Linked DNA regions of Homo sapiens: regions 2, 3, 4, 5 and 6 are each linked to region 1. Evidence: promoter capture Hi-C in 16 types of primary human blood cells and fetal thymus (Javierre and others, 2016). All regions are on one chromosome and are shown on one strand. Each heading gives the region's core, a stretch centred on a gene start or on the middle of the fragment in contact. The rest is flanking DNA. Distances are from core to core; before and after follow the strand shown. Region 1 holds the start of TMSB10 (thymosin beta 10). Region 2 overlaps DNAH6 (dynein axonemal heavy chain 6). Region 3 overlaps DNAH6 (dynein axonemal heavy chain 6). Region 4 overlaps DNAH6 (dynein axonemal heavy chain 6). Region 5 overlaps DNAH6 (dynein axonemal heavy chain 6). Region 6 overlaps DNAH6 (dynein axonemal heavy chain 6).

Region 1 (5,167 bases), core at 1,853-4,352:
TCCTAGGGACAGCTAGACTATATTTCCCAGCCTTCCTTGCAGTTATGTGAAACCAAGTGAATGAGCTCTGGCCAAAGAAATGAGAGCGAAAGTAATGGAGACTACTTCCAAGCCTGGTCCATAAAAACTCTAGTGTGGTCCTCTAGCCTCTCCTCTTTCCCCATCCACTGGCTGGATGGTGTGGACTTCAAGGACCTAGACGAGAGCAGAGTAACAAGAGAGAAGGGGCCTGAGTTCCTGAGTCACTAGATGGAAAAGAATTGCCTGACCAGCAACATCAGCACAGAATATTGCTGCATGAGTAGAAAATAAACTTGTAGGCTGGGCGCGGTGGCCCACACCTGTAATCCCAGCACTTTGGGAGGCTGAGGTGAGTGGATCATTTGAGGTCAGGAGTTCGAGACCAGCCTGGCCAACATTGTAAAACCCCATCCATACTAAAAATACAAAATTAGCCGGGCATGGTGGTGCATGCCTGTAATCCCAGCTACTCGGGAGGCTGAGGCAGGAGAATCGCTTGAACCCGGGAGGCAGATATTGCAGTGAGCCGAGATCATGCCTCTGCACTCCAGCCTGGGCTACAGGGCAAGACTCCATCTCAAAAAACAAAAAAGAAAATAAACTTGTATTGCATTAAGCCACCTTGGGGGCTGTGTGTTACCAGTTGTTTGCTGACCCTGACGTGAAGTTCCACTTTCATTCAAGAAATGTTCACTACCCTCCCTCTCTTACCATAGGTGGAATATTTTCCCCACTCTGTTGATGGTGGGCTTGACCAATAGGATGGCAGCAAACATGACAGGATATGACAGGCTTTGACACTTTAACATTTCTACACTATCTTGCAGTACAACCCTCTTGCTATTCTGCCATCACCAAAGAATCAGCCAGAGGATAAGATACCTGTGGAGCAAACCTAGACCCAATACAAAGTCTGGAGCCAAGCTCAGCCCGGCCCAGCCCAGCACCATCTGACCTGCCCATATAGGAACAAGAATAAATCATTGTTTAAACTCCTAAGCTTTGGGTGGTTTGTTACATGGCATATTGCAGCAGAAGTTAACCAATGCACTCATCAAATATAAGTGTGATATTCTAATGAGGTTGCTATTTGAAGTATCCACTTGAGGCCAGGCACAGCGGTTCACACTTGTAATCCCAGCTCTTTGGGAGGCCAAGGAGGGCAGATCACTTGAGGTCAGGAGTTTGAGACCAGCCTGGCCAACATGGTGAAACCCCGTCTCTACTAAAAATACAAAAATTAGCCGGACATGGTGGCACGTGCCTGTAATACCAGCTACTTGGGAGGCTGAGGCACAAGAATCGCTTGAACCCGGGAGGCGGAGGTTGCAGTGAGCTGAGATTGCACCACTGCACTCCAGCCGGGGCAACAGAGTGAGATCCGTCTCAAAAAAGAAAAAAAAAAAAAAAAAAAAGCTGCAGTGACCTGTGATCCCACCGCTGCACAGAGACCCTGCTAAAAAAAAAAAAAGAAAGAAAAAGTATCCACTCTATGCCTCTTCTTTATCTCACCTCAGTTTATGCCAAGGCTATTTTATAGATGAAGAAACTAAGGAAAAGATTTGCCCAAGGTCACACAAGCCTATGCTCTCTTCCCACTGTTCCAAACTGAAGGAACGTGAGAAAAGCAGGTAAAATCAGGAGGGGAGAAGCAGGGAGTGGTGCTCAGGCTTGTAATCCCAGCACTTTGGGAGGTTAAGGCAGGCAGATGGCTTGAGCCCAGAAGTTCGAGACCAGCCTGGGCAACATGGTGAAATCTCGTCTCTACAAAAAGAACACAAAAGATTTGCCGCTAGTGGTGGTGCACGCCCGCAGTCCCAACTGCTCAGGAGGCTGAGGTGGAAGAATCACTTGAACCGGGGAAGTCCAGGCTGCCATAAGCCGTGATCACACCACTGCACTCCAGCCTGGGTGACAGAGTGAGACCCTGTCTCAAAAAAAGTAAATAAATAAAATCAGGACCGAATTTAGGATGTCACCACCAAATCCCACTTTAAAGAGCTCGGTAATACTTCACACTTAAAAAAGGAAAGGTCAGGACAAATAAAAGAATGACCAGCCTTAACTCCGGGGCTGGTAATTTATGGAACTTATTACCTAACGGTGTTGCACAGGCTGAAAATACAACTTTTCTAAGAAAGATGTGAATAATTGCAGTATACCACTCCTACAATGGGTTAATAAGAAAAACAAGAACGTTTGTAGGCATGTGGGTCTCTATTATCCTCAAGGTTAACTTCAAGGAGGAAAACCGCACCCGCTGATACAGTGTTTCTAGGAGCTCGACGAGAAAAGGCAAACTGCGAGCCTTCTCGGGACGCCCTGTTCCCACCACAGCCCTTCACACAATGCGTCTAACAGCATTTAAGGAACACCCGCCACGCCAACGATCCTGCTGGAACCGCCCAGTTCAGGGAACAGGGGACGACTGACCAGAAGGCAACCGCCCCCAACCTGAGCAAAGAGCGCTGGAAACCTATTCCCCCCTCCCCCTACACCCCCCCGCCCCCCGCTCCACTACGGGACCCTCGGCTCGAATTCTTTTAGTGCAGGACCACCTTAGGACTCAGCCTCCCTAAGGAGAGGAAAAGTGGGGGAGGGAAGGGGACTCTGGAGGAGCAAAAGCAAGAGGCCTGGGGGCGACTGGGGTGGGGCGTCTCCTAGAGCGAGGATTGCTGCAGAGTGCGCGTGCACGCCCGCACATCCACACCCACGGCTACACATCATATCTGCACACGCACAAAACCACACACCCTCCCACGCCGGTCCCATATCCTTTCTGCGGGGTGAGCAGCAGATTCCCGGAAAGGGGGAAATGTAGCCGCAAAAGCAAAGCCGGGGGCCTGGCGCCCACTCTGGCGGCGACTACAGCCCCCACGCTGGGCACACTGCGAGCTGGGGGTGCCCGGCGCGGGAGAAGCCGCGCCCAGCCGGGCTGGTAGCCCAGCGGGGGGCGCGGCAGGGCGAGGAGCAGCCCGCGCTGCTCCCGCCCCTCGGGTGCCAGCACCGCCCCTGCTGCGGCGGGTGAGGGGCGGGGCGGGGCGCGGCGTATATAAGGCTAGGGGCGGGCGCCGCTCTTTTGTTTCTTGCTGCAGCAACGCGAGTGGGAGCACCAGGATCTCGGGCTCGGAACGAGACTGCACGGTGAGTGCGGCGCCGGGGCGGGGGGCCCACCCAGGGTGTGGTCGGATCCGGTGCACCGGGCGGGCGCGCCGCAACCGCGACAGGCGCCCTTCTCGGACCGGACGCAGGGGCCGGCGACCACGCCCTGGGACCGAGAAGAGGGGTGCGGGACGCGCCCAGATCCTCGGCCTTGGGGCTGCTCGGCACGCCTTGGCGCGAGTGCCACGTCGAGAGGCGTCGGCGGGGAGCGCGGAAGGGGACGCTGGCCCCCAGGCCCAGGTCAAGCGCCTTGGTTTGCCCACTAGGATTGTTTTAAGAAAATGGCAGACAAACCAGACATGGGGGAAATCGCCAGCTTCGATAAGGCCAAGCTGAAGAAAACGGAGACGCAGGAGAAGAACACCCTGCCGACCAAAGAGAGTGAGTGTGCCTCGGTCTCCCGCGCCCCAGCCCAGCCCCTCACCCTGCTCTTCCTTGCAAACCCACTCCTCCACCCCCCACCCCGCCGTTGTCCCCGGTGTGGGCGGCCCCGGCCACTCTTTCAGTTTCACAAAGCGCCTTGTTTCTCCCCAGCCCCAAGCTTCCTTCTAAATCCCCACACCTCGTGGGTGCCTCGCCCACACCGGGAAGCACCTCGGTTGCGGGTGGGGGTTGCAGCTCCCCTCCAGCGCCCGCTTCCCGCTCTCCACAGCCATTGAGCAGGAGAAGCGGAGTGAAATTTCCTAAGATCCTGGAGGATTTCCTACCCCCGTCCTCTTCGAGACCCCAGTCGTGATGTGGAGGAAGAGCCACCTGCAAGATGGACACGAGCCACAAGCTGCACTGTGAACCTGGGCACTCCGCGCCGATGCCACCGGCCTGTGGGTCTCTGAAGGGACCCCCCCCCAATCGGACTGCCAAATTCTCCGGTTTGCCCCGGGATATTATAGAAAATTATTTGTATGAATAATGAAAATAAAACACACCTCGTGGCATGGCTGGCGTGGTCTGAGTCTTTTAGTTGAGTATGCGTGGGCAGTGCCACTGCAGCAAAGCCCCTCGATGGAGTAGAGTTCCTGCCGCAAAGGGGAGGAGGTGGGTCGCAGAATGGGCTGACTCGGAGGGAGTTTTTAATTTTGGCTTTACCTGCTTCTCCGTAAGATTTCATGACTTGTTAGCCACTTAACTCTTGCTCGTAAGCAATCTGTGTAAAATTTAACCCCACTTTGTCCCCAGGTTGCGTTGGAAAATGCTTTTTCAAAAGAGCAAGGTTTGCTTTTGATAAGCTTCGAAAGCCCCACTGTTTCCCTCTGGCCTCCTCCTAGCTGACTCAGAAGGGAACACTGATTTTAAAGAAAGAAAAGACAATCTGGAATGTTGGAAATTGGGTGAGGTCACAAAGTCTCCGGAAGCCTTTCTTCGGGAGCTTAAAACAAAGGCGGGATCTAGGGATACAGCAACGGGAACGTCAGAACTAGAAGAACCAACACTAGAACTGGGGGAGGGGAGGGGGGAAGAGCTTTTGTCTTTTAACCCTAGTTCAGAACCTCCCACAAAAACATTAGCCATTAGAGGAAGTGCTAGACTGATCTGCTACCACCCAGTGCTCAGCAGGAAGGGTGGGGATGTGGTGGGAGGGAGGAAGGGTGGGCTGGCGCTGGCGCTGGCGGCCAAGCTCCAAGGGATGACACCTCAAACCCACAGGGAAGGAATAGGACCAGCCCAAGGGGGCCTGACAGTTGGGAACCTGGGGCTGCAGGCCATTCAGAAGCAGAAGAAACAGGCTTATAAAGACAGGGGTGGAGTTTTCTTTAAGGAAGGTGGATAGGACACTGCTTAGAGATTCGTCCCACATTTTTGCCCGGCCCCAAGAGGCTGGGCACTGGGTGAAGACAGTTAATTCGAATAAGATACGGTCCCTGTCCACGAGGAATTTAAAATCTGGTGAGTGAGATAGCCACAGCAGACCAGAGTCAGGACACCTAGGCTTGGCAGGGAGACTCATGCCCAAAGGCATTCTCTCTGAACTCCTATCTGCACCTCC
Region 2 (5,167 bases), core at 861-3,360, 250 kb before region 1:
TGTACAGGAAACAAACAAAATCATACATGATATCAGAGAAATGATAGATTCTGGTACAGCACATAGGACAAACTAATACTGTACATGTCAGAAGAGAAAGATCAATGAGAAACAATAAGACTCATAATATTTCATTGATTGTAACAAATACGGGAAAATATCAATGACCAGTTGTTCCTAATTGATTTTATTTTTGTTTTGACAGTGGAATCATATCTGACCTTTTTCCTGGAGTCCAAATTCCAGAACATGATTATGGTATTTTACAATCAACAATTGTGGATGTCATGAATAGACAAAATCTTCAGCCTGAGATGTGTATGGTTAGAAAGGTGATACAGTTTTATGAAACTATGCTAGTAAGGCATGGTGTTATGTTAGTCGGGCCAACAGGAGGCGGCAAGACCACAGTTTACCGAATACTAGCAGAAACTTTAGGGAATTTACAAAAACTTGGGATAGAAAATTCCTTTTACCAAGCAGTTAAAACATATGTTCTCAACCCTAAATCAATTACCATGGGTGAATTATATGGAGAGGTTAATAACTTAACCTTGGAATGGAAAGATGGTTTGATGGCACTAAGTGTCCGAGCAGCTGTGAATGATACTTCAGAAGACCATAAATGGATCATCAGTGATGGGCCAGTAGATGCTCTTTGGATTGAAAACATGAATACAGTGCTGGATGATAACAAGATGCTTTGCCTGGCTAACAGTGAGAGGATTAAACTCACACCTCAAATTCACATGCTTTTTGAGGTAAGTGTACACATTACTGTGGAGTGAAATCATTCATTAAATTGGCATACTATCGTTACATTTTTTTCTCACACTGATGTAGCCTTTACTATCTATAATGTCTATTATTGTGTTCTGTTTACTTACTTATTAAGTCATCCTTTTGTAATAGATTGACAGTCAAAGTCTCAAATGTTCTTGTCTCTATAAATAGGAAGTACAATAAACTCTGGCTTCCCTGAGAGAGGGAGAGAGAGAAAGAGAGAGAGAGAGAGAAAGAAAGAGGAGAGAGAGAGAGAGCTTTGTATCATTTGAAATGCATTTTAAATTAAAAATTATTGCATTTAATAAGAATAAATTATCCCACCATGATATGAATATTTGATGAGGGATTGGGAGAGGAATGTGGACCAAGTACAGCTACCAACATTATGAAGGATGCCACCTGTGTTCTATTCATTCATCAAATACTGATTGAATGTCTAGTATGTGCTAGGGATTCTAATACAAGAATGAACAGGAGAAAAGAGAAAAGCAAAGAGAAGAAAGAAAAAAATAACTAGCCCTGCCCATAGAGTTTGACAGTATCCTCCTGTAGTTGTGGGAATTTTTTTCACCTTATACGTCATTTAACTTTCTTCCTCCATTTCTAATTACTTATTGCTCTCCCACTCTCTTCCACATGAAGCCCTTCAGTGTTGTTAGACTTTAAAAGTGTGAATCATTTTATAAGTGTGAACATTGAAGTTGGAGAAATAAGGAAGTATCATATTAGCTGTTTCCTGTTCAATTTTCTTCAACTTTAGGTGCAAGATCTGCGGGTTGCCTCCCCTGCAACAGTCAGTCGATGTGGAATGGTGTTTGTGGATCCTGAAGAACTGAAATGGATGCCTTATGTTAAAACTTGGATGAAGGGTATTTCTAAAAAAGTAAGTGCCATCAGATATTCCCCAATATCTCCATCTGTCAGGACTCATGTTGCCTTCTAGTGCACAAATAACAATAGGTTAAGGACTCATGGTTCTTGATTGAGGGGACTTCATTATTTTACCTAGTCCTCCCTGTGAATTCCTGGAATCGTCCAGGAATGTTTATATACTCCCCAAATCTGTCCTCATTTCTTGTTACCCCAGCCTGCCAGCCTGCCTACTCACCCTGCCTCCTGCCTATTCTGCCTGGCTTCTCCCCAGACTAGAAACACAAGCCACTTTTTTGAGTCCCTAAAAACACAGCTACAACAGCCTGAGGCATTGAGACTTCGCAGAAAGCTTGGGAGTAATAAAAGGAAGCAAAATGAAGAAAAAGAATATTTAAGTCCAGACCCTAACTGTCATTGTTTTTGGATTTTGAGAGCCCTTAACACCTATGACAGCCAAAGATAAAAGAAAACTCATTTACATCCTACCCCAATAGTAGGTGCAAGACCTAAGACACATTCTAACCTCAGAGGTACAATTCCACCCAAAGTGAAGGAAAGCTTATACATTGTTATTCAAAACAACTCAGTTTCATACTACTTTCTGTAGCTTCTGCATTCTAACACAGAATTTTCCTCTTTAGCTTAGCTTAACAAGTAGTCCTTTGAGATGTTTCCCCCACATCTCATCCCCTACTCCAAGTAAGCCATCTTCATCTCTGCCTCTCCCCCTCCAAAGATGAGCCAGAAAACTATTGTTTTCCTCCTTTTTAGGCATCAACAGTTTTAAGAATATTATGGTCTAGTCTCAGAGTACCTTATTAAAGACAGTAATTCTCAGAATTGAGAGTTTGTCATTGGCTACCTTAAGATTTTTAACTTTTCTGAATTCACTTTTTTAAAAATTAACAGACATTTTTGTGCTTAGGGCAGTTTTAAGTTTATAGAAAAATTGAACAGAAATGAGAGTTCCCATGCACTCCCTCACCCCCAAACAGTTTCGCCTATTATTAACACTTTGCATAAATGGTGAACCACTATTGATACATTATTATTTTACATTAGAGTTCACTCTTTGTGTGCAATTCATGGGTTTTGAAAAATGCATAATGTCACGTTTCCACCATTATAGTATCAGGCAGAATAGTTTCATTGCTCTAAAATTCCTCTAAGCTCTACATATTCATCCCTACTCCCCATCCTTTAACCCCTGCAACCACTGATCTTTTTACTATCTCTGTAGTTCTACCTTTTCTAGAATGTTATACAGTTGAAATCATATAGTACATAGCCTTTTCAGACTGGCTTTTTTTCACTTGGTAATATTCATTTAAGATACTTCCATGTCTTTCTGTGGGTTGGTAGCTTATTTCTTTTTAGCATTGGATAATATTTTTTGTATGAATGTACCACAGTTCATGTACCAATTCACCTACTGAAGGACATCTTGGTTTTGGCAATTATGAATTAAACTCTTAATAAGCATTAATGTGCAGGTTTTTGTGTGGACATAGTTTTCACCATATTTGGGTAAATACCTAGGAATGTGGTTGCTGAATTATTTAGTATATGTTTAGCTTTGTAAGAAACTGTCAAGACTGTCTTCTAATGTGGCTGTATCATTTTGCATTCCCACCAATAATGAATGAGAATTCCTGTTGTTCACATCCTTGCCAGCATTTGGCATTGTCAGTGTTTTGGATTTTATGCATTCTAATGGGCACGTAGTAGTATATTGTTTTAATTTGCAATTTCTAATGACAAATGGTTTGAGCATCTTTTCATATGTTTGTTTGCTATCTATGTATCGTATTTCATGAGGTGCCTATTAAGGAAGGTCTTTGGCCCATTTTGAAATTGGGTTGTTTGTTTTCTTATTGTTGAATTTTAAGAGTTCTTTATATATTTTGAATTCAATTCTTTATCAGATTATATCTTTTGCAAATATTTTCTCCTAGTCTATGGCTTGTCTTTTTATTTTCTTAACAATACTCCGGTTTCTCTTCAGATTGTATAAATATTTCATCTTCTATTCTCTTAACAGTGTGTTTCACAGAGTAGAAGTTAATTTTAATGAAATTCAACTTACCAGTTTTTTCCCTCATGGATGGTGCCTTTGGTGTCATACCTAAAAAGTCATCACCAAGCCCAAAGTCATGTAGATTTTCTCCTGTTATCTTCTAAAAACTGTATATTTTTTGCTTTACATTTATAATCCATTTTCAGTTAATTTTTAGGAAGGGTATAAGGTCTGTGTCTAGATTTGTTTTTTTGCATGTGTATATCCAGTTGTTCCAGCACCATTTTTTGAAAAGACTGTCCTTTCTCCATCAGATTGCCTTTGCTTTTTCGTTAAAAATCAATTGACTGTACTTATGCAGGTCTATTTCTGTGCTCTCCATTCTGTTCCATTGATCTACTTGTCCATTCTTTCAACAATAACCCACTGTCTTGATTACTGCAGCTGTATAGTAAGTCTTGAAGTTGGGTAGTGTCAGTTTTTCAACTTTGTTCTTTTTTGTTGTGTTGGTTATTCTGGGTTTTTTGCCTTTCCATATAAACTTTAGAATCAGTTTGTCAATTAATCCACAAAGTAACTTGCTGGAATTTTAACTGAGATTGTGTTGAATTTATAGATAACATCAGAGAAATTGACATCTTAAGACTATTTAGTCTTCCTATCCATGAATGTGGTATTTCTCTCCATTTATTTAGTAGTTCTTTAGCTTCTTTCATCAGAGTATTATAGCTTGTCTTATATAGATCTAGTACATATTTATAGTTAATTTATTTTGGCACTAATGTAAATTGTGTTATATTTTTAATTTCAAATTCCAATTGCTCCTTGCTGGTGTATAACAAAATGATTGACTTGTATATGTTAACCTCATATCCTGCAACTTTGCTATAATTACCTATGAGTTCCAGTTTTATTTGTTTTGTTTTGTCAATTTAGGTAGATTTTCTACATAGACAATTATGTTATTTGTAAACAAAGACAGTTTTACTTCTTCCTTCCCAATCTGTATACCTTTTATTTCCTTTTATTGTCCTATTGCATTAGCTAAGACTTCAGGACAAAGTTGAATAAGAGTAGTGAGAGGGGCTGAATTCACTTTTAAATATTTGGAAATTATTTTTCTACCTTACATAGATACTAAAATGTTGTCTTCTGTGTTTCTTCTTTTTCATTGTTAATAATTGTGAAAGAACATCAGTATAGAAGAGTGCATGAAATATGTATTGACAGCTTAAGAAATAATTATGAAATTAACACCTCTGAACCCATTGCCAGACCAAGAAATAGAACACCATCAACTACCCATAATTTCCCCCATGTATCCCTTCCCAGTCATAAAAGGTTTCCTTAAAATTTAATTTGTTTAATATGTTGTGATAGTTATAGCCTTTGGTCTAAAGGTCACTGAATATATAGAAATATCCAGATTTTAACCAACCTAATTCTAAACTTAATTATATATTTATCAGGTCTTGCTAAACTATCATTTGT
Region 3 (5,167 bases), core at 1,723-4,222, 230 kb before region 1:
CTCATTCTGTCACTGAGGCTGGACTGCACTGGCACAATAGAGGCTCACTACAGCCTCAACCTCCCAGGCTCAAGCAATCCTCCCACCTCAGCCCCCCGAGTAGCTGGGACCACAGGCGCATGCCACCATGCCTGGCTAATTTTTTGAATTTTTAGTAGGGACTGGGTTTCGTCGTGTTGCCCAACCTGGTCTTGAACTCCTGGACTCAAGTGATCCGCCTGCCTCAGCCTCCCAAAGTTGCATATTTATTTTTAAGAACATTGATTTATGGTATTAACCTCTGTCCTTCCCACTAAAGCTGCTTTAAGACGGAATAGGTGGCATGTTCTCTCCATTAGACCCACAGGGCTTTTGCTTTCCATTTAACTCACAATAGCCCAGGCTATTTGTGGATTCCATGTTTGAAGATTCTCATGCTCACAAAATTTATTTGTAACTGCAAAATCAATATTCATAGCACTTATTCTGTCCTTTGCAGACATGTATGGAGTGGCAAAAAATTCTAGCTGTCCAACCCACAGTTCCCAGATGAGGTGGAACAAGACAACACTCTGCCTTCTTTTTCAGCTCCCATGCTGTAAACAACTGCCCTTTTCGCAGTCTACTTGAGACCACACTTTCACATTTTTGTGCCTTCTGTTGGTGATTTTGCTATGTAAAATGGCCCAGTTGTGGTGCTAAAGTGCTGTCTACTATTTCTAAACACAAAAAGGCTGTGATGTGCCTTACTGAAAAAAATGAATGAGTTTGATAAGCTTCATTTAGGCATGACTAATAGTGCTGTGGTCCATGAGTTCAATGTTAATGACTCAACAATATAAAATAAGGCATTTTAAACAGAAACACACATAAAACAAAGTTATAGATTGGTCGGTTGACAAAAATGTCATCACCAGAGACTCACAGAAACCTAACCCTAGGAGCAGTGGTTCAGTAACCACTAATCCAGTGCTCCAGCCAACTTTACTAAACTTAACTACCATGAATAATGAATATTTGTTGAAAGAATGGCTATGTTTTATCTTCAGATAGCAAAGTTTTTAGGATTACAGTTTCACATAAAGGTATTTATACAAAGTAGATGAATTAGCTGAGTGACCTTGAGCAACTTACTTAACCATCCAGGGCCTTGGTTTTTTAATCTATAAAATAGGTGTAATTATAGTGATCTCTTGGAGTGATTGTGAGAATTAAGTCATTTAACATGCACAAAAAAAAATGTAATGCAATGCTGGCATTTGGGAAGTCCTACCATTAGGATAGGCAGGTCTCATTTCATTCTCTGCTGAGTGATCCAAGTGGATTTCTCTGCACACAGGATGTAACAATCATATCGGCATGTGCACCTCCAGGCGGTGGCCGCAACCCTGTGACTCCCCGCTTCATCAGACACTTCAGCATGCTGTGCCTCCCAATGCCCTCAGAGCACAGTCTGAAACAGATTTTTCAGGTGAGTGTCGATTTTAACTTAGGCAACAGGAGGAAAAGAAAGCATATTTGTTCCAAGGCTCCCACAATCAAAGTGGTGTCTTGTGTTTCTAAGGAGTCCATCTATCCGTCTCTTTCCTGAGCAGGAAGCAGGTAAATATGGACTCCTGGAGAGTAGCTGGCAGGCATTTGCATCACTGCCTTCTGTATCTGTTGGTCTCAGAGAGTTCTAGAAATGCAGAAAGATTGTGCAGACAAAACCCCTACCTTTAGAGAAGGCTGCATCTTAGGTCCCTGCCACTTAGCACTCCACACACAGTTCTTGGCAGATCTCATCACTACCCAGCCCCTGCCTTTGTGCTCATCTTATCCCTAACCACCAGGTCTGCGTGTCCACTTGCCACCAAACTTGGCACCTGATATGCCAGAGAGCTCAAGCTCAACACACCTAAAACAGAACTCATCTCCTTGGCCACTCTCGCTAAGAATGATAACCTATCTTTTGTCCATCTGTACTCACTTCCCTAATAGGCTACTTCCCCATCCTTTATATGGGAAAAATAATAACACCTGCCCTACAAGTGCTCAACAGATTGAGAGGCATTATTTTGAGTAGAACAGTAAGAGAATATGAAGCAGCATGACTAAAGCCCCGCATAACCAACCTGCAAAGGTTGCTTAGAGAAGAGAGATTGTGAGCTGAGTCTTGGGGATGCTGGGAATTGACAGGGAGGAACAGATCTTAGGAACAGGAAGTGCTGGGTGAACGCAACTGCAGAGGCAGGAAATGGTAAGGTGGGCACAAAGGTAGAATAAGACAGTTCAGGTGACTGGCCTGGAGAAGCTGATGACAGTGACGTGGACAGTGATGCCCAAGGATGTGGCAATTAAGTGAACCTCCACATTCACCAGCATCAACTTCTTCCAGTAGAAGCCCTCTCTCAAGAGGGACAGACCCCGCATGTATACAACCTTCAGTACATGGAAAGGAATTTTCTGTTTGTATTGAAATAGCTTATTTCTGTGGGAAATTATTTTTAATAAATTGAAGTAGTTCCAATAAGCTGTTTAGGAGCTAATGCCAAAATGGTATATAAAAACTGCCACATTTTGAAAAACTTTCGGAGAGTGCTTTAGAAAATAGGAAAAGATGGGAGCTTCACTCCTATAATTAAGCACCAGAGTATAAAACAAGACATAACAGCAACCACCAAAGCCATTAGAAGGGTTGTCTAAGGCCTGCACACTTTTTTGAGAACTTTTATATTTATATTTTGAAGTTTGAAGTGAGTGATTCCCAACCACACCACAGATACACTGTGATGTGGTGAGTGGTGAGGGGTGTCTCAAGAAACTTATGCCTGGTTAGAAGAGACTGAATTTGCAATTTATTTCATTTTTTATTAAGTTAAAGCAAATTCAGGTTTATGACTACAAAAACATCGTTCTTCATCATTCCAAAATGGAATGATTTCCATTTTGTGGGTGGGAAGAATACAGTGAAGCCTGGGCCACTGGGAAAGACATGGTCCCCAACTCTCAACCTCCTGTGGGATTATCATGTCCATGGAAATGTGTCACCCATGGGAACATCATCCAGCAAGCACATCATAGCTAAAAACTGGCTGTGATAAGGCTGCTTCTTCCCACTGTAACTTTACAGGTTTACATTTAAAACCCACACTAGCTATAAGGGGAAATAGAAATGATATGTGGCAAAACTGAGAGATTCTGGGGGCTACCAGGTTGGACTGAATTCAGGTGGGAAAGAATATTGCTCTCATTACAACGGACAGGGTATTTTGCCTGTAGGAAAAAAGAACTTGCTCTAGGCCCATGGATCTCAAACTTCATTTTTCATCACATCCCACCTTAGCAGGACCCAAGAATTCATCACCCGTCTGTCCTGTCCTTCATTACTGTTTGGAGGAAAAAGAACTTGGATATAATCAAGAATTGAAGAAGAGCAAAATCAATAAAGTAAATTTATTTTTAGCAACATATATAAATAGATTTATTTCTACTGTATAAAAGAAGCCTATGAGTCTAAATAGTACATGTATATTATATATAATGTTTTCAATAACCTATTAGTGTTAACACGATTAGTCCTATCATTGTACTTTCTTTGATAGTCTGTTGCAAATTAGTTAAATAGTGCATATATGCAGGGAGCGCACCACTAATGCCCAGACACGATTTGCACCGTTGGAATATGTACATTATAAGTGACTCTTTCTCAGACCATAGTTCATACAAACCTGAATGTTTACTTACTGGAAATTTATGTGCCAAAATATGCATCACTATACATTCTAAGGGTAAACCGAACAGCACACAACCAGGTAAATTAAATTTAATGAAATTTCTAGTTAGAAAGCTATAACGCAGTAACTGAAAACCGTGATCAGCTCCATAAACTAGTGATAATGTGCTTATGCCAAAGAATCCTCCCAAAACTAAGAAACCTGGCTGCATCTTGCGTGCATGTTCTTAGTAAGAGTTTTGCAAAGTTGCCAAACAGATCATGTAAGCCAGATCCTTAAGTAGAATACTAGGCTGTGGTCCTCAGTAAATTCTATAATGATACGCTAATTTTAATGTATGGATACCAGTTTAGTAGCCTTTAATTCATTCATTAAACAAATATTTGTTGAGCACCTTCCATACGCCTGATATTGGTGTATCATCCCTGTCCTCATGGATCTTCTTCCATGGACACAGATAATGAAGAGATGAATGAGATATCTAGATATAGACACACAGTTACTCATGTATATGTTAGAAACTATTTGTATTTGTGTCATGGAGAACAGAAGGCTGGAGCTTTTTACATACATATAACATATATATAAATAAAATTATCAGCTTGTCTATTCTCCATCATACACATACAAATGGACAGATTTTCATCAAATTTAAAGATTGGGTTTGAGATGGTCCTACATAAAATACAGACCATGTGGAGTATGTTAAACTCATGTTGGGGTCCCAGGAGGGGATACCTAAAGAGGTCATCCTCACAAGTTAAAGCAAATGTTAAACAGGAGACCCACTGAAAACAAATACTCAGGTTTATTTCAAAAGATCTCATATATGACACCAAATCTGAAGTCACAACTTCAGATTAGACTAACTTGCAACCATTGATATGCATTCTCGTGGCTTCTCCCATTAGTTACTCCAGGGTTAATGGTAATAAGAATTTATCTATTTAAAAAACAATAATGATTTTTCCAAGCACTTGCGGGTCAAGGACTAGCTAATAAATACACATGTTCAAGTTGTGATGTTATGGATGAGAAGATCAAAGAGACTGATGGGAGGACTTGTTTTAGACTGAGTGGTCAGGAAAGGCCTCTCTGGAGAGACGGCATGTAACCTAAAACATGAAGGATGAAAGGGCACCTGCCAAGCAGAGAGGGCTGGGCACAGGAAGAGGGGAGCAGCAGTGCAGGGGCCTGAGGTGGGAAGGAGTGTGGGTGTTCAGACTAGTGTGGCGGGGACATGGGGAGCAATGGAAGGGAGGGGTGAAGTGAGGATGCTGGGGGAAGGGTGGACCAGCAGGGAGACCAGAATGGAAATGGAGAGGCCAGAGTGAAGGAGAGAGAGGAGAAGTCCAGATAAAAAAGAGTAGGGGCCAGGATGGGGTGATGTCCGGGGAAACAGAGGGAAGCAAACAGATCCAAGAAATGTGTTCAAGATTGATTTTGCAGGACAGAAAATGGGAGGTGTATAA
Region 4 (5,167 bases), core at 1,540-4,039, 210 kb before region 1:
TGTGGCCTAGATCGGCTAGGGTCTCCAACAAAGTCCTTCAGACTTCAGGAAAAAGAGATTTTACTTTATTCTAAATTTGTACGACTAGGGCCGAGACCCAACAGCCTGTTAGGAATGGGGGAAAGAATGAAAAAGAGAAAAGCCCAGCAGTGCTGTTCACCAAACCCTGGCCTCAGATGCAGCCTGCTCTTCCCTTGCAGCATCCTGCCCAGGGAGGAGGCTCCACTGGCCACCAGCCTTTGGCTCTGGGGCAGGCTCTCTGAGCAGGAGCCATGTCTGTGAACTTGAAATAAACCCTCTGCTCTGATGTTTGCAGGATTGCTCGGATGATACGTCAAGAAAGAGGCAATGCCCTGCTTGTTGGAGTAGGAGGCACAGGAAAGCAGTCACTCACGAGACTTGCAGCTCATATATGCGGTTACAAATGTTTGCAGATTGAACTCAGCCGGGGATATAATTATGATAGTTTTCATGAAGACCTGAGGAAGTTGTACAAAATGGCTGGTGTAGAAGACAAGAATATGGTTTTCCTTTTCACTGACACCCAGGTGTGTGTTTAAATAGCCCATGGGTGAGAACAGGAAATGTATGGGTGTTACAATCGGGTGTGTGCTTTGAACAGTTTGTAGGATGAAGTTCAAGGGGATTGTTCCCTTTGATAACAGATTTCCTGCAGCTTGTAAAAGACTTTTATAATACATTTTTATTTATTTTACCAAGTATTGTTTCCCTCTTTAAATTCTTAGTAATTAAATTTGATCAAAGGTCGAGGAGGTAAGTTTTTAACTTTTCTTTGAGGGAAAAGGCAAAGATAACAGAAGGTAATAAACTATAAAAGTGCATATAAGAAAATAATTTACCAAAAATTCAATTAGGGAAACATGACTTTACCTACAGAAAGGAAAAAGTAAGGGCTATCTTTTGGGTTAAATTACCTTTAAAATTGAAGTAGGATTACATCTATATCTACAACAGCTAAATTAACTGATCTTGAATTAATTCTATAGCAGAGGACTTTCTACATTGATTATTCTTGGGTATTTTTTCTTTAGAGAAAATAAACCCATCTAGAAATTAGCCAACGAATAAAAAAGTGATAGATTTGATGCATAAATGTTTTAAATATTGTAAGCAGAATTAAATACAAAGAAAAAATTGGAAAAATATTTTTAGTATCTATGACATGCAATGAGTTTATATCTTATTATAAAAATACTTATCACAAATGAAAAAGGAAAAGTCAAGCACATCTATAGAAGAAATAGAAAAAATGTGATAGAATGTGAATACACAGTTCCAGAAAACAAAGGGCTTTAAACACCTGAAGAAATTTTCAACCTCACCATTAATGAAGGAAATTGTAATAAATAAAAATGCGAGTGACTTGGCCTTGCAAGTTGATAATGGTAAAAAATCATAATATACAGAGTTGGCAGAGGTGTGGGAATAATAGGCCTGTTTATTCTTCACTGGGAGATTATAAATTAGCAAAATCTTTCTGGAAGGTAGTTGGCAATATGTAGGTAAAGCCTTTACATTTCTTTTACGTTATACTCAAAGCTATGTACAAAGTTGCATGTATAAGAATATCTATTGTAATGTTTTTAAATAATAATCTGAGAGAGTATTAATGTCCAGTGAGAGAAAGTCATATACATAATATCTGATATAACCATATACTAGAGCACTGTGTAAAAACTGTAAAATTATATTTTAGAAGCATCCACATTTTAATGTATATCTAGACATGTATGCCCTGTGTACAAAGAGAAAACATTTGAATCTTGGGATTGTGAGTGATTTTTATTGTCTAGTTGCTTATCTGTAGTTTCTGATTATCCTAAAATTAAGATATTTCTGATAGTGCTTTTAACATTGCTTTTAAAAATCAAACAAGTTATGTAAAAAGTCTCCAAGTATTAAAGCTCCAAAGATCAAGTCATATTGTGTTGCTTCTCTTTAGACAAAAAGTTACTACATTCTGTTGGAAGCCCCAATCAATCTCAAATGTTCTACAATAATGAAGAGTAAACGTAACCATAAAAATAAAAATGCATGTGTCTATACATGAACTTATATATACACAAAACATTATAAATGTGAGAAGAAATTGAGAGAAACAAGATGTTAAAAATAGAGTTTAATTGGCTGTAACTTAACAAATACAAAGTAGAAATAACTATGATTAGATATTTTACATAATATAATTTCTAAGCTACAATTAATAGCTATATACTATATTTCATATTTTACAGAGAAAGCAAATATTTTCTAATACTACTGAATGTTTACAAAAATTAATCATATACTAGATTTAAAGAAATTTTTATTAAATTGTTAAAAGCATAAGCTGTACTCGTAACATTCTTTGCCCATGCTTTAATTAAGGGAGAAATTAATGATGTGTCTTAGGACTTTAAAACATTCATATAAAGATCAAGAAAGTCAAAATCTCTTAGAGACTAAGAAAAATGAACTTAATATAAATAAAAATCTATGGAATGCAACCCAGCAGTTCTCAAATTTACATTTGTAGATTTGAATCAAAAATTAGAAACTACACAAATTAGTTTACTTAAAACTTTAGGAGGGAACAAATGTCACAAGACACATAAGAAAATGGAACAAGATAAAGCAAAAATAAATTAGAACACAGAAAACTAGTGTTTGCTCTTGGGGAAAATTGACAGACACAATTATACCAAGTTCATTAAGAAAAACAAAAAGTTTCAAATGAAGAAAACAAAATAACAGATATCTTGTCATAGTTAAATATATAGTACTCAAACTTTTATATAACTAAAAAGTTAACTGAAATAAAGGGTAAACGAGAGATTGCTTTTAAATATTTGCATCAATGTTGAAAGACAAAAAGTCTATTTCAAAATATGTAAATTACTCATGCAAATTTGAAAGAAAACTCCAAGATGCAGGTGGTTGCAAAGTTTAGACTGACTTTTTAATGGACAATAATAAATGTGGGATAATATTTTCCCTTGCTAATAATCAAAAACATCCAAAATAAATTCTCCAAAAGAAAGCATTTATTATATCTCCCAAATTAACAAAAATAAATGTTAAAAATTGATGAAGTCACACTTGAATTGAATGAGAAATAGTAAAATCTTCAAAATCCAGAAAATATTTGTGCATTTAATTGGTAATCTCACTCCTGGGAATTTGTTTCAAGAAAATAATCCAACTAAGGGGAAAAGATATATGCCTAAAATTGTTCTTATAATGTAAACAAGACTGTAAACTATCTCTGTCCGTGCAAATGTATGGTGCATCAGCTCAATGGTGCATTCTGCTTCTATATTTTTGATAAATATGATGAGTACATTACAGAACTATGGGTTAGTATTAATGATAAAATGGTAACTGAAAGGGGCAGAATATAAAATACTTGCACATATGACTTGACCAAGGTAAAATGGGAATGCCTGCTAAGAAACAAAACACAAAGGAAAAATGAAAAATCAGTGTACTTGCTATGTTAGAACTTCAGGGTTCCATGAAATTTTTAAGATTATCTTCTCTTAAAGATGAAATTGATTCATGTGAATTTTAGAATAAATATTTGCTTTATAATAAATGGAAAATGATTGAGCAAGTTGTAATGATCACTGCTTTCTTCTACAGATTGTAGTGGAGGAGTTCCTAGAAGATATAAATAACATCCTGAACTCAGGTGAAGTGCCTAATTTATTTGAAAAGGATGAACTGGAGCAGGTTTTAGCGGCCACCAGACCAAGAGCAAAAGAAGTAGGAATTTCTGAGGGGAACAGAGACGAGGTAGGATGTGCCAGAGTAGTTATGTGGCTTTATCACAAAAACGTTTCTTCACCTTTTATTTAACCATTCATTGATTGCCTGAAGGGGTCCATGAATAAAATTTTTTTCAATATAATTGGTTTCCTTTGTATTCGATGTATTTTATTTTCGGTGTTTAAAGCATTGGGTCACCAGACTTCCAGAAAGTTCTGTGGGAAGCAGAAAACAGAAATCCCATTGCCCCACAGAGGTCATAGTCTTGTCCAAACTGGCCAGCCTCTCTTATTCCTCTTTAAGCACCAGTTTATTTCACACACTGCAGCACCCTACCTGTGGCGGGCTGAAGGCATAGGTCCAGCATTGTTGATGCCCTTGCCTAGCAGCAATGTTATGACACAACAAAGCAGGAATGTGTTTTCTCTCACTCTCTCGGGAACAGTGTGGCTGCTGTACACTTCCATTCTCCAGCACCATGCTAGATCCCATACACCACTACTTGTTCACCCCAGCTTTTTTCCTTGTTTTTGCACCTTCTTTAAGTTTCTGGCTGTTCTTTCTTATATCTTTACTGTTTCCCTTTGTGAGAATTGTCTCTCCTGCTAGGTCGGAGATTATAGGTACAGATGCAAGTCTACTTCTGCTAATGTAAGCAGGAAGGGATTTATTAAAGGGACACAGAATCATTGGAAGGGCCAAAGAAAGAAATTCCAGACTGAACTGATTGGAATGAATATAAAATGTACACTGTAGAAGTCAATGGTCAAGGAGGTAGCTGCCTCTGCCACAACCATTCCTGCTGAAGCAGGGAGCCACTAAACCAGTCAGTGTGCCTCTGCATCAGCCGCCAGCTCCAGAGCCATGTGTCCTCCATCACATCAGGAAGCAGCTGAAATCAGGAGCCACTTCCAGAAATAATAGCTCCAGGATAGTTTATCAAAGAACTTTGAACTACCATTTGATCCAGCAATCCCATTACTGGTATATACCCAAAGGAAAATAAATCATTCTACCAAAAAGAGATATGCACCTGTATGTTTCATTGCAGCACTATTCACAATAGCAAAGACACGGAACCAACTCAGGTGCCCATCAGTGGTGGATTAGATATAGAAAAAGTGGTATGTGCACACCATGGAATACTACACAGCCATTAAAAATAATGAAATTGTGTCCTTTACAGAAACATGGATGCAGCTGGAGGTCATTATCATAAGCAAATAATGCAGAAACAGAAAACCAAATACCACCTGTTCTCACTTATAGCTAAACATTGGGTAACATGGACATAAAGTTGGGAACAATAGACAACGCAGAATAAAAGAGCACAGAGGGAAGGAGGGATGAAAGGGTTGAAAAACTACCTATTGGATACTGTGCTTACTTCCTGGGTGAC
Region 5 (5,167 bases), core at 886-3,385, 180 kb before region 1:
TTTTTTGTATTTTTAGTAGAGACGGGGTTTCACCGTTTTAGCTGGGATGGTCTTGATCTCCTGACCTCGTGATCCGCCCGCCTCGGCCTCCCAAAGTGCTGGGATTACAGGCGTGAGCCACCGCGCCCGGCCGAGTGCTTCTTGCTACTAATTCTTAAGCCTTTGAGGAGGATTATTTTTATAAATCGGGTGAGTTCGTGGCTATCCACTTTTGCCAGTGTAGGAATCCATTTTTCTGGGTCTGCTAAGTCATTGCCACCCTTCTGTCTGCTTTCGAGCTCCCAAAATTCGTTGATATTTCCTCGCCCATTCTTCCTATCTTTATTGGTTTACTCTGCATTTTTAAGCCTTTTCCTACAATTTTATTGTAGTTTCAGTAGGAAGTGAAGGTAGATACACATGTGATGACTGCCATCTTTATCTATAAGCTGGTTTATTTGTTTTGCAAGGAGTTGCTTTGGAGTCATCCTTTCTATACAGCAGGGATCAAACTGATCCTTGGCTGTGTTTCCTGCCACTTCTTGGCTACAGTTTATACTCCTCTCAGCTCTTAGAATCCTTACATAAAAATATGTCTCATATTCTCTAAACGCGGCTGAAACCTCAAGCCTGTAGGGCATAATGTCTACAAGTAGTTGCCAAACTCAACGGAAGCATATAGTATTCTAATATTCTTTGGCAAGGAGATGAAAACAATCCACTTTCCTTCTCTTTAGCCCTGGTTTCTACATTATCAGTGCCTTGTGCTCCCTAAGACATAAAGAATTATTTGTTAGTGGGCCTACATGATCCACCAACTGATCCCATATCAACTTTTTTTTTCTACTTGGATTTGAAAGCTTTAGTTGAGTCCCATATTAACATAGGGGTTTCCTACTCAACTCTGCCCTTTATTTCCCCTTCAGCTCCCTAAGGGGTTATTACAGGGAGAGTTTGATCTCTGATTCCTGGAAACAGCTTCTGCACTGAATCCTTCCCCTCCCTTTCCTGGTGGGCTGGGGTAAATAGTCTAGACTTATACTCTTTATTATGGTAGGTAGCCACTAGCCATAGGTGGCTGTTGAGCACTTCAAATATGGCTAGCCTGAATTAAGATGTATTGGTAGTGTAAAATACACAACAGATTTCAAGGGCTAAATCCAAAGAAACAAAATATCTCAGTAACTTTTATGTGGATTATATGTTGATATAATATTTTGGGTAGATTAAAAATATACTATTAAAATTTCTTTTTATCTTTAATAAATTTAGAAAATGTATGATTATTTATGTGGCTCACATTATATTTCCATTGGAAAGCACTGGTCTATACAGGAACTTGATGATTCCTTTTAGCTTTGATGGAGCAAATACTGAGCAGTCAGTTCCCTTGGTGATTTTTCATGGTCCCTGCTCTAGACCCTTTGACTTTCTAGAGAGAAAAGGATTTCCCAACCCAGGGATATCCACCTCTGAAAAACAGTGGGGGAAGAGAGAGGAGGCAGGGGCAGACAGCAGTAGAAAGAGAGAGACTGAGAGACATAGAGAAGGGAATCTTGGAAGGCCCATTGGCCAGAGGGCTCCCCAGACCCACAAACCCAAAATGCAGAAAACCAAAAGACCTTGAAAGCATCGCTAACTCATTTGGGGTTATAATCCTCCACAAACAACAGCTTCTATCCCATATGTCTATACCTGGGAATACTAGGTAAAGAACAAGAATATTAGTCACCCTTGTTATTCCAGGGAGGGATGTGGTGCCACTGCCTCCCAGCCACTCTCTACTCCCTTCTTTTGGGCATCTTCCTGGGTATCCCTTCTCCTTTCATTCCTTTATTCATTGTGCTTGCCCTGGACTGCTCACAAAGAAGTTCGGGAGCAATTAGGAGTGCTGTGATGGTGTTTGCATTGCAGGAGTAATTCAGATTGAGTCTCAGAGACATGCTGCTTCTATGTTTTCAAAGCTACTTGTATTGCCTGCTGCCCTCTGCCTATTCCTAACTCTGGAAGGAAGAAAGGTCAGCTTATTCAGAAGGTCACTGAGCCCTGAGACTCAGTCGTTCCACCTGGGGACCCCTTATTATAATCACCAACTCATTCTATCCTTATTTCTTCCCTAGACCTAACTGGATACATTCCAGAAGTCCCACTATTTTTCTGGAACAGATCCCTAAGAACTTGTTATTGTATGTTTATTCAGATCACTTCTGGTGCCATTAAAACCAGGCTGGAAGAAGCAGAGTCCACTGAGCAGATGATCAATGTGGCTCGTGAGAAGTATCGTCCAGTGGCCACTCAAGGCTCTGTAATGTACTTTGTCATTGCAAGCCTCTCAGAAATAGATCCTATGTACCAGTACTCATTAAAATACTTTAAACAGGTAAGTGTGTTCATGTTGTTAATGACAGTCATCTCTTTGGCCTCCATTACACCTGTTGAATTACTTCTTGCTTCACATAAGCCATAAGTCTAGTTATCAGGTAAAATCTCCCAGGTGCATGCAAGGTTCAAGAGTGGTTCCAGCCAGGCATGGTGGCTCACACCTGTAATCCCAGCACTTTGGGAGGCCGAGGTGGGTGGATCACCTGAGGTCAGGAGTTCAAGACCACCCTGGCCAACATGGAGAAACCCCATCTCTACTAAAAATACAAAAATTAGCCAGGCGTGGTGGCAGGTGCCTGTAATCCCAGCTACTCGGGAGGCTGGGGCAGGAGAATTGCTTAAACCCAGGAGGTGGATGTTTCAATGAGCCAAGATCGTGCCACTGCACTCCAGCCTGGGCGACAGAGCGAGACTCTGTCTCAAAAAAAATAAAAAATAAAAAAGAGTGGTTTCACCAGCCCTTCCAAAGATGCAGTTTTTAGAGTAGAGTTAGTGATTATTATATATATATATAAAAGGTATATATAAAATTTGAATTTTTTTTAAAGATTTGATTGCCCAGTATGCACAGAACACTCTGTAGAGGAAGAGAAGAAAGCTCCTTTGCAAGTTTCATTTGCTCCTGACTTCCTCAACTAGCTAGCATGTTTGTTTTCCTTCATGCCTGCCCTTCTCTCTTTTTTAAGAGTCACAGCTGAGTCCCATTTCTTTAGACATCCTCTGCAGTAATCTAGATTCCTTTCCACTATTAGTGTTTTCTGTTGTATCTCAAGTCCAAACAGCACTGACCTTAACCAAATTGGTTTATGTATCTTTTATTTCCCAAACCTTTTATGCAACAACCTGTTCTTCCTTCCCTGCGCCCACTTCTGACTTAGAGGGATCTCTTTCCTTTGTTTCTGTCCCACTTTCACCATGTGACTATGAGACTCTCTTGTTTTATTTCAGCCTCTCTTCTTTATCTCATATTCACAGTTGAATTTCATCTGCTGTCTCATGAGTAGGATGTTTTCACCCCTTATCCTCTTTGTAGCAGCATTCATTTTTTCTCAAAAGCAAATTCAATGCCACAAAGCTTCAGCAGGCAATGCCAATTTTGCTAAAGACTTCCAGGGAAGACAGAGAGTTTGCATTACTCACTATACAGCAAGACTACCAAGCATCTGCATCAGAGGTTCTCTCAGGTGCCAGTGGCCTCTTCTCAGCCCACCCGACCAAAGCCTCCCTGGCTCAGTCTTCCCATCAGCTCCTACTTCCTGTTGGCAGTGCTGTCTCCTTTTCTGGGCAGAGCAGTTTAACTTACTCTCACTTTTCTGTTCATCCATGCTTATACCCTACCCATGACACAACTCAGCCAACGAAGGCCTCTCCCTCCATACATGCCACTCAGTAGAAAACAGTGGAGAATTGTAAACATAACACTTTTTCCCTGCAACACATCTCTATTTCCTGTTATATGCCCCTGTATAGTCAATGCTGGCTCACACACCTGGAAGCCAGGCCAGCCTAGTCCTAGTGTTTTCAAAACACTGTTCCACAGACCTAGGTCCTAAATGAATTTTCACAGATATTGCCCATCAACACAATTCATACTCTATAGCCTGGAATTCAAAGCCAAATCCAGCCTGTCCCTGTTTCATCTCTCCAGTCACATTTCTCTCAACTCCTGTGCAACAGCCAAATTGATCCACTTACATTCCCAAGACTAACTGGATGCTTTTGTGTTTCTGACACTCCCTCTGTTTAAAATGGCCTTCCTCCCAACCTAAATGCTGCTGGGACTGCATTCTAAATTCTCCTAAATTCTCCAGCAAAGCCTGCTGCTGGGACTGCAAACATCTAGAGGCTGACTGGAATGAACATCCAAAATGGCTGACTCACATGGCTGGGCTGTCACTCATGGCACCTGCCATGGCCTCTCCTTGTGGCGTGGGCTTCTCACTACAGGGCAACTGGGTTCCAAGAGGGCCTCTCCCCAAAGTAAACGTTCAAAGAAACCAAGATGGAAGCTCCAGGACTTCTTCTGACCTAACCTTGGATTTCATGCACCATCAATTCGGCTACAGTCTGTTGGTCAATCAAATCACTAGGATAGTCCAGGTTTGAGAGAAGGGGATTTAGACTCCACCTCTCAATGGGAGTAGTAGCAAACAGGTTCAGCAGTCTTTATCCAAAATATTTGATATGCTTCATCTGGCATAATGTTACCCCACGTTGTCTTGGGTGGTTGGCTTCTCTCTCCTGCTGGAGCCTGAACTCCCAGGAGGCAAAAATGAAGCCTCACCAATCCCATATCCCCAATGGTGCTTAGCACCACATAATGCTCGAGTGTTTCATGAATGAAGAGTCTGTTTTGATCTCTGCATATAACATTCCAACAATTCTTATTGAACTTCAGATAGTCAAACAATTCTTATGACAGCTTGATTTTTCCTCTAGAGGTCTTATTTAGTACCCTCGATAATGGTTGGAGGTCCAGGAACAGTTTCTATTTCCAGGAAAGAATGGAAATGAGGAATTGAAAGAAATGGGAGTCAAGTTGTTTAGATAGGCCTGGGTTGTCTTTCAACAAGATGTTCATTTTAGCAGCCTTTGAAAGCCATCTGTGCTGGGTTCAAACCTCAATTCCTAGAGGCAAGGGTTTGGGTTCTTATATCTCTGCTCCCTTCCTTCAGTTGACAGGTATTAACCCAAGCAAAATAAGGATTACCAAATCCTGTAATGCCACCTAAATGACTTTTTGTTAATACTTTTCTTATCTTGGGTGTTTTGGAATTTATGCTCTTCAAGTTTTTAAAATCTCCTT
Region 6 (5,167 bases), core at 1,674-4,173, 170 kb before region 1:
GGATAAATTTCTTTCTCCTGCCTGATTGCTTTGGCTAGGACTTCCAGTACTATATTGAATAGGAGTGGTGAGAGTAGACATCTATGTTTTGTTCCAGTTCTTATGGGGGAATGCTTCCAGCTATTGTCCTTTCAGTATAATGTTGGCTGTGGGTTTGTCATTGATGGCTCTCATTATTTTGAGGTATATTCCTTTGATGCCTAGTTTGTTGAGGATTTTTATCATAAAGGGATGTTGAATTTTATCAAATGCTTTTCCTCGTCTATTGAGGTGATCATATGGTTTTTGATTTTAGTCCTGTTTATGAGGTGAATCACATTTATTGATTTCTATATGTTGAATCATCCTTGCATCCCAAGAATAAGGCTCACTTGATTATGATGAATTAACTTTTTTATATGCTGCTGAATTCAGTTTGTTAGTATTTTGTTGAAGATTTTTGAGTCTATTTTCATCAGGGATATTGGCCTTTGTTTTCTTTTCTTTTTGTGTCTGTGCCAGATATTTGTATCAGGATGATGCTAACTTCATAGAATGAGATAGTGAGGAGTCCCTCCTCCTCAATTTTTTGGAATAGTTTCAGTGGAATTGGTACCAGCTCTTCTTTGTACATCTGGTACAATTTGGTTGTAAAGGGCTTTTTTTTCCGTTAGTTGGTTGGTTGGTAGGTTTTTATTCCTGATTGAACTTCATTACTCATCATTAATCTGTTCAGGATTTTTGTTTTTTTCGGGTTCAATCTTGGGAGGTTGTGTGTTTCCAGGAATTGATCCATTTCTCTAGATTTTTCTAGTTTGTGTGCATAGAGATGCTCATCATAATACCCTCTGAGGATCCTTTATATTTCGGGGGGATCATTTGTGATGTCACTTTTGTTATTTCTGATTATGATTATGGATCTTCTGTATTTTTTTCCTTGTTAATCTAGCTTATGGTCTATCAATCTTGTTTATCCTTTCGAGAAACCAACTTTTTGTTTCATTGATCCTTTGTATGGTTTTTGAGGTCTCAATTTTGTTCATTTCTGCCCTGATTATAGTTCTTTTATTTCTTCTGCTAGTTTGGAGTTTCATTTGTTTTATTTTTCTATTTCCTTTAGGTACAAGGTTAGTTTGTTAATTTGAGACCTTTCTAACTTCTCGATGTCATTTCTAACTTCTCGATGTAGTTTTTCAGTGCTATAAACTCTCCTTTAACACTGCTTTGCTGCATCCCAGAGGTTTTGATACATTCCATGTCTGTTTTCATCTGTTTCAAAAAAGTTTTTTACTTGTGCCTTGATTTCATTGTTTACCCAAAAGTCATTCAGGAGCAATTTGTTTAGTTTCCATGTAATTTTATGGTTTTGAGAGATCTTCTGTGTATTGATTTCTATTTTTATTTCACTGTTGTCTCAGAAGATGCTCAGTATGATATTGATATTTTTGTGTTTATTGAGACTTGCTTTATGACCAAGCATGTGGTCAATTTTAGAGTATGTTCCATATGCAGATAAGAAGAATGGGTATCTTGTGGTTGTTAGGGAGAGTATTCTGTAGATGTCTATTAGGTCCAAATGGTCATGTCGAATTTATGTCCAGAATTGGTCAATTTTCTGCCTCAGTGATCTATCAAATGCTATCAATGGGGTGTTGTGTGTTGTGTGACTATTGTTGTGTACTGCCAAAGTCTTTCATTAAGCCTAGATGTGCTTGTTTTATAAGTCTGGGTACTCCAATGTTGGATACACATATATCTAGGACACTTAAGATGTTTTGTTGAATTGAGCCCCTTATCATTATTTAATGCCCTTCTTTGTCCTTTTTTATTTTTGTTGGTTTAAATTCTGATATAAGAACAGTAACCCTTGCTTTTTTTTGTTTTCCGTTGCGTGACATATCTTTCTCCATCCCTTTACTTTGAGCCTATAGGTGTCATAACATGTGAGATTGGGTCTCTTGATGATAGAAGAAGAATGGGTCTTGTTTTTTCATTCAATTTGATACTCTATGTATTTTAAGTTGAGCATTTAGGCCATTTATGTTCAGTGTTAAAATTGATATATGAGGTTTTGTTGCTGTCATAATGTTGTTAGCTTAGTTGCTTTGTAGTCTTTATTGTATAGTTGCTTTATGGGTACTGTGGGCTATGTGCTTTCATGTGCTTTCATGGTAACAAGCATTATTCTTTTGTTTCCACATTGAGAACTCCCTTAAGCATGCATTGTAGGGCCAGTCTGGTGGTGGAAAATTCCCTTGGTGATTACTTGTTTGGGAAACACTTTATTTCTCCTTCATTTATGAAGCTTAGCATGGAAGGATATGAAATTCTTGGCTGACATTTATTATCTTTAAGAATACTAAAAATAGGCCCCAGTTTCTTCTGACTTGTAAGGTTTGTGCTGAAAAGTCTGTTTTTAGTCTTATAGGTTTCCCTTTATAAGCAACATGACCCTTTTCTCTAGGTGCCTTTAAAGTTCTCTTTCACGTGGACTTGGGTTAGTCCTATCCCTCCTATCCATCCCCAAGTGTGTCTTGGGAATTGTCATCTTGTGTAGCATCTTACAGAAGTTCTCTGGATTTCTTGTATTTGCATGTCGACCTCTCTAGCAAGATTGGGGAAATTTTCCTGAATTATATCCTCAAATATGTTTTCCAAGTTGCTTATTCTCTCTTCTTCTCTCTCATGAATGCCAGTAAGTCATAGGTTTGGTCACTTTACATAATCCCATATTTCTCAAAGGCTTTGTTCATTTTTTAAATTCTTTTTTACTTTTGTCTGACTGGGTCATTTTGACAGATTGGTCTTCAAGTTCTGAAAGTCTTTCTTTTGCCTGGTCTAGTCTGTTGTTAAGGCTTCCATTTGTATTTTGAATTTCCTGATGCGAATTTTTCAATTCCAGGACTTCTGTTGGTTTTGTTCTTAATATAGCTATGTTGTCTTTCATATCTTCTGTTCTGTTCTTAATATAGCTATGTTGTCTTTCATATCTTGGATCATTTTTCTGGCTTCTTTGTGTGGGATTTCAACTTTCTCCTGGATCTCATTGAGTTTCTTTGCATCATATTCTGAATTCTATATCTGTCATTTCAGACATTTCATTCTGGTTAGGATCCATTGCTTGGGAGCTAGTGGGATCCTTTGGAGGTGATGAAACACTCTGTCTTTTTGTATTGCTGGGGTTCTGCACTGGTTACTCCTCATCTGAGAGAGCTGATACTTCTCTTTTTTTTTTTTTTAATTTGGTATCACTTGGTTGGGGCTTCTTGTTTATTCGTTTTTCCCTTGGGGGTATGACTGTGATGTATATTGTGTATGATTAATTGGCTTCATTTCTAGGTGCTTTCAGAGTGCCAACTCTCTGTACAGGTTCCTTGGTTGCAAGTAGGTTCATGCAGTGACTTTCTCAGAGGTTGTTTGTTGTAGCAATGTAATTTTATTTGGTGGCGTAATTCAGGATGCAGTCTAGTAGATGGTGCTTAAGAGTAAGAACTGATGGGTACAAGCAGGGGTGGAAGCACTAGAGAAGTACAAAAAGCACCTCTGCAGAGCACATTCACCCTCAGTAGGGCAGAGCTGCTGGAGAAGCTTGAGACACAGACTCTTTCAACCCGCATTCCCCAGACTCCAAAGTGAAGAGTCACTTCCAAATCCATGACAGGGCACTGAGAAGAAGGGTGGCGGAGCAAGTGTGACCCCCTCTCCATGTCCATTCCCAGGCTTTGGTGGTACCACCTTCAGTGGCTGGCACTGCACCCATGTTTTCTTTTATCCAAGGGGGTCTTTGGTGGGCTGCACTCTCCCCTCCTTTAGGGACAGTCTGCAGCAAGGGTTAGATCTCCAGGGGAGTGGAGTCTGCCTCCCTCCCACGCCTCAGAGCTGGTGGGGCACTGTTCCCCAACTGACCAAGGAAACAGGCTGGGACACCCCGTTATGACCCATGCAGACCAGTTCTAGGTTGCAAAGCTGTCTCTGACTGAAAGTCTTGCCCTCTGGGAAAAACCTCAGCTTCAGCAACTCTCCTCCCACTCCAGTCTTGTGATGGGAGAGAGCGTAATTCCACCACCTACTACTGGGGCACTCTCCACACTCACTGCTCAATTCTGCCTGTGGGGACCCTTCTCCCCTTCCAGAACAAGCACTTTAATCTCACCTAAGACCAAAATGCTTGCTGTGGCCACCGCTGCCAGGTTACCAAACAATGGCTCTAACCTCTCAAAATGGTGTCAGCCATGGGCTTGCACCTAGAGAGTGGGGAGCCCCTCTCAGGCGAGCAGCATGGACGAGAAGCTGTGAGGAGTGTGGTCCACTCAAGTCTCAGTCTCATAGCAGCTCGTAGCAAGGCATTGGACATTGTCCTAGGTATATATAGGAGAGCCTTGGTCCCCTTTCCCTGCTTGGCTGGGTGGCAGCAGCAGTCACATCAGCCCAAACTCAGGCCAAGGATGAGGCACAGCTCAGCACTACATTCTCAAAATGGTGCCTTGGGCCTGAAAACAGGGAGGGCGGATCACTGCCCAGGCAGGCAGCATGATCAAGAAGCTGTGGGGAGTGTGGTTCATTCACATCTGTCTCACAGCAGCCTGCTACAGAGCTGTGAGTATTGTCCTAGGTATGAGTAGGATGACCTGGTCTCCCTGTTCTTCCTTAGCCAAGCAGAGGCTACAGCCACATCAGCCCAAACTAAACAAAGCATGGAGCTCAGCCCAGCATTAAACTCTCAAAAGGGCACCTTGGGCCTGGGGCTAAAGAGGGTGGGGCACCATTCAGGCAAGCAGCATAAGCAGGAAGCTGTGAGAAGTGTGGTCAACTCATATCTCAGTCTCAACAGCAGCTCATAGCAGGGCAGCAAGTACCCTCTAGGGGGTGCATGAGTGTGCCCGTTCTCCCCTCTCCCTCCCTGGAGCAGCACAGTGGCTGCAGCTGTGTCTGTAAATCCCCAGGATCTGGGTTCTCAAAATGGCACCCAGCTGAGGCTGCACCAGGCTCGGATTCCTGTGGGATTGTGTGTGGGTTCCCTTTCTAGAGAAATGTCTCTGTACAATCTTTAGGCAGTTCCATATGTCAGGCACAAGGCCCTAGTGGGTCAAGGGTTTCTCCTGTAGCCAAGATCTTAAAACCCTGTTTTGGAGCTCCAGGGATTTCCCTCTTACTGTTTCCCTGCATCCAGGACCATCTCCCAGCCCAG

What was found. Contacts are between HindIII fragments. The CHiCAGO score rates a contact against its expected background, and 5 or more counts as called.
Region 2: a fragment that was not itself captured here is called in contact with the fragment with the promoter of TMSB10 in region 1 in 6 of 17 cell types (non-activated CD4 T cells, naive CD4 T cells, naive CD8 T cells and 3 more); the score reaches 14.0 in non-activated CD4 T cells.
Region 3: a contact is called between a fragment that was not itself captured here and the fragment with the promoter of TMSB10 in region 1, in 1 of 17 cell types (non-activated CD4 T cells). The highest score is 5.4, in non-activated CD4 T cells.
Region 4: a contact is called between a fragment that was not itself captured here and the fragment with the promoter of TMSB10 in region 1, in 1 of 17 cell types (non-activated CD4 T cells). The highest score is 5.8, in non-activated CD4 T cells.
Region 5: a fragment that was not itself captured here is called in contact with the fragment with the promoter of TMSB10 in region 1 in 1 of 17 cell types (non-activated CD4 T cells); the score reaches 5.1 in non-activated CD4 T cells.
Region 6: a contact is called between a fragment that was not itself captured here and the fragment with the promoter of TMSB10 in region 1, in 1 of 17 cell types (non-activated CD4 T cells). The highest score is 7.9, in non-activated CD4 T cells.

The regions. Positions count from the first base shown.
Region 1 is chr2:84,902,554-84,907,720 of GRCh38, forward strand. It overlaps TMSB10 (thymosin beta 10), which reads left to right and starts at 3,103. Exons shown (of 3, transcript NM_021103.4): 1 at 3,103-3,165; 2 at 3,450-3,564; 3 at 3,836-4,118. The coding sequence starts at 3,465. The coding sequence ends at 3,870. LOC105374836 (a long non-coding RNA gene) reads right to left here and starts at 4,468. Exons shown (of 2, transcript XR_940308.3): 1 at 4,110-4,468. It overlaps LOC105374837 (a long non-coding RNA gene), which reads left to right. Exons shown (of 3, transcript XR_940309.3): 3 at 7-383. RefSeq lists a silencer at 2,860-3,399 and enhancers at 3,366-4,565, 4,370-4,429. The HindIII fragment of the contact is 2,703 bases long and covers 1,020-3,722 here.
Region 2 is chr2:84,653,114-84,658,280 of GRCh38, forward strand. It overlaps DNAH6 (dynein axonemal heavy chain 6), which reads left to right. Exons shown (of 77, transcript NM_001370.2): 34 at 206-761; 35 at 1,547-1,669. Among named protein-coding and RNA genes, the nearest start is that of DNAH6, 140 kb to the left of the region's middle. The HindIII fragment of the contact is 209 bases long and covers 2,007-2,215 here.
Region 3 is chr2:84,675,687-84,680,853 of GRCh38, forward strand. DNAH6 (dynein axonemal heavy chain 6) reads left to right here. Exons shown (of 77, transcript NM_001370.2): 41 at 1,319-1,450. Among named protein-coding and RNA genes, the nearest start is that of DNAH6, 160 kb to the left of the region's middle. The HindIII fragment of the contact is 4,438 bases long and covers 754-5,167 here.
Region 4 is chr2:84,693,933-84,699,099 of GRCh38, forward strand. It overlaps DNAH6 (dynein axonemal heavy chain 6), which reads left to right. Exons shown (of 77, transcript NM_001370.2): 46 at 317-548; 47 at 3,643-3,795. Among named protein-coding and RNA genes, the nearest start is that of DNAH6, 180 kb to the left of the region's middle. The HindIII fragment of the contact is 8,907 bases long and covers 1-5,167 here.
Region 5 is chr2:84,720,446-84,725,612 of GRCh38, forward strand. It overlaps DNAH6 (dynein axonemal heavy chain 6), which reads left to right. Exons shown (of 77, transcript NM_001370.2): 60 at 2,180-2,359. Among named protein-coding and RNA genes, the nearest start is that of TRABD2A, 160 kb to the right of the region's middle. The HindIII fragment of the contact is 2,597 bases long and covers 838-3,434 here.
Region 6 is chr2:84,736,811-84,741,977 of GRCh38, forward strand. All of the region lies in intron 62 of DNAH6 (dynein axonemal heavy chain 6), which reads left to right. Among named protein-coding and RNA genes, the nearest start is that of TRABD2A, 140 kb to the right of the region's middle. RefSeq lists an enhancer at 4,703-4,752. The HindIII fragment of the contact is 1,283 bases long and covers 2,283-3,565 here.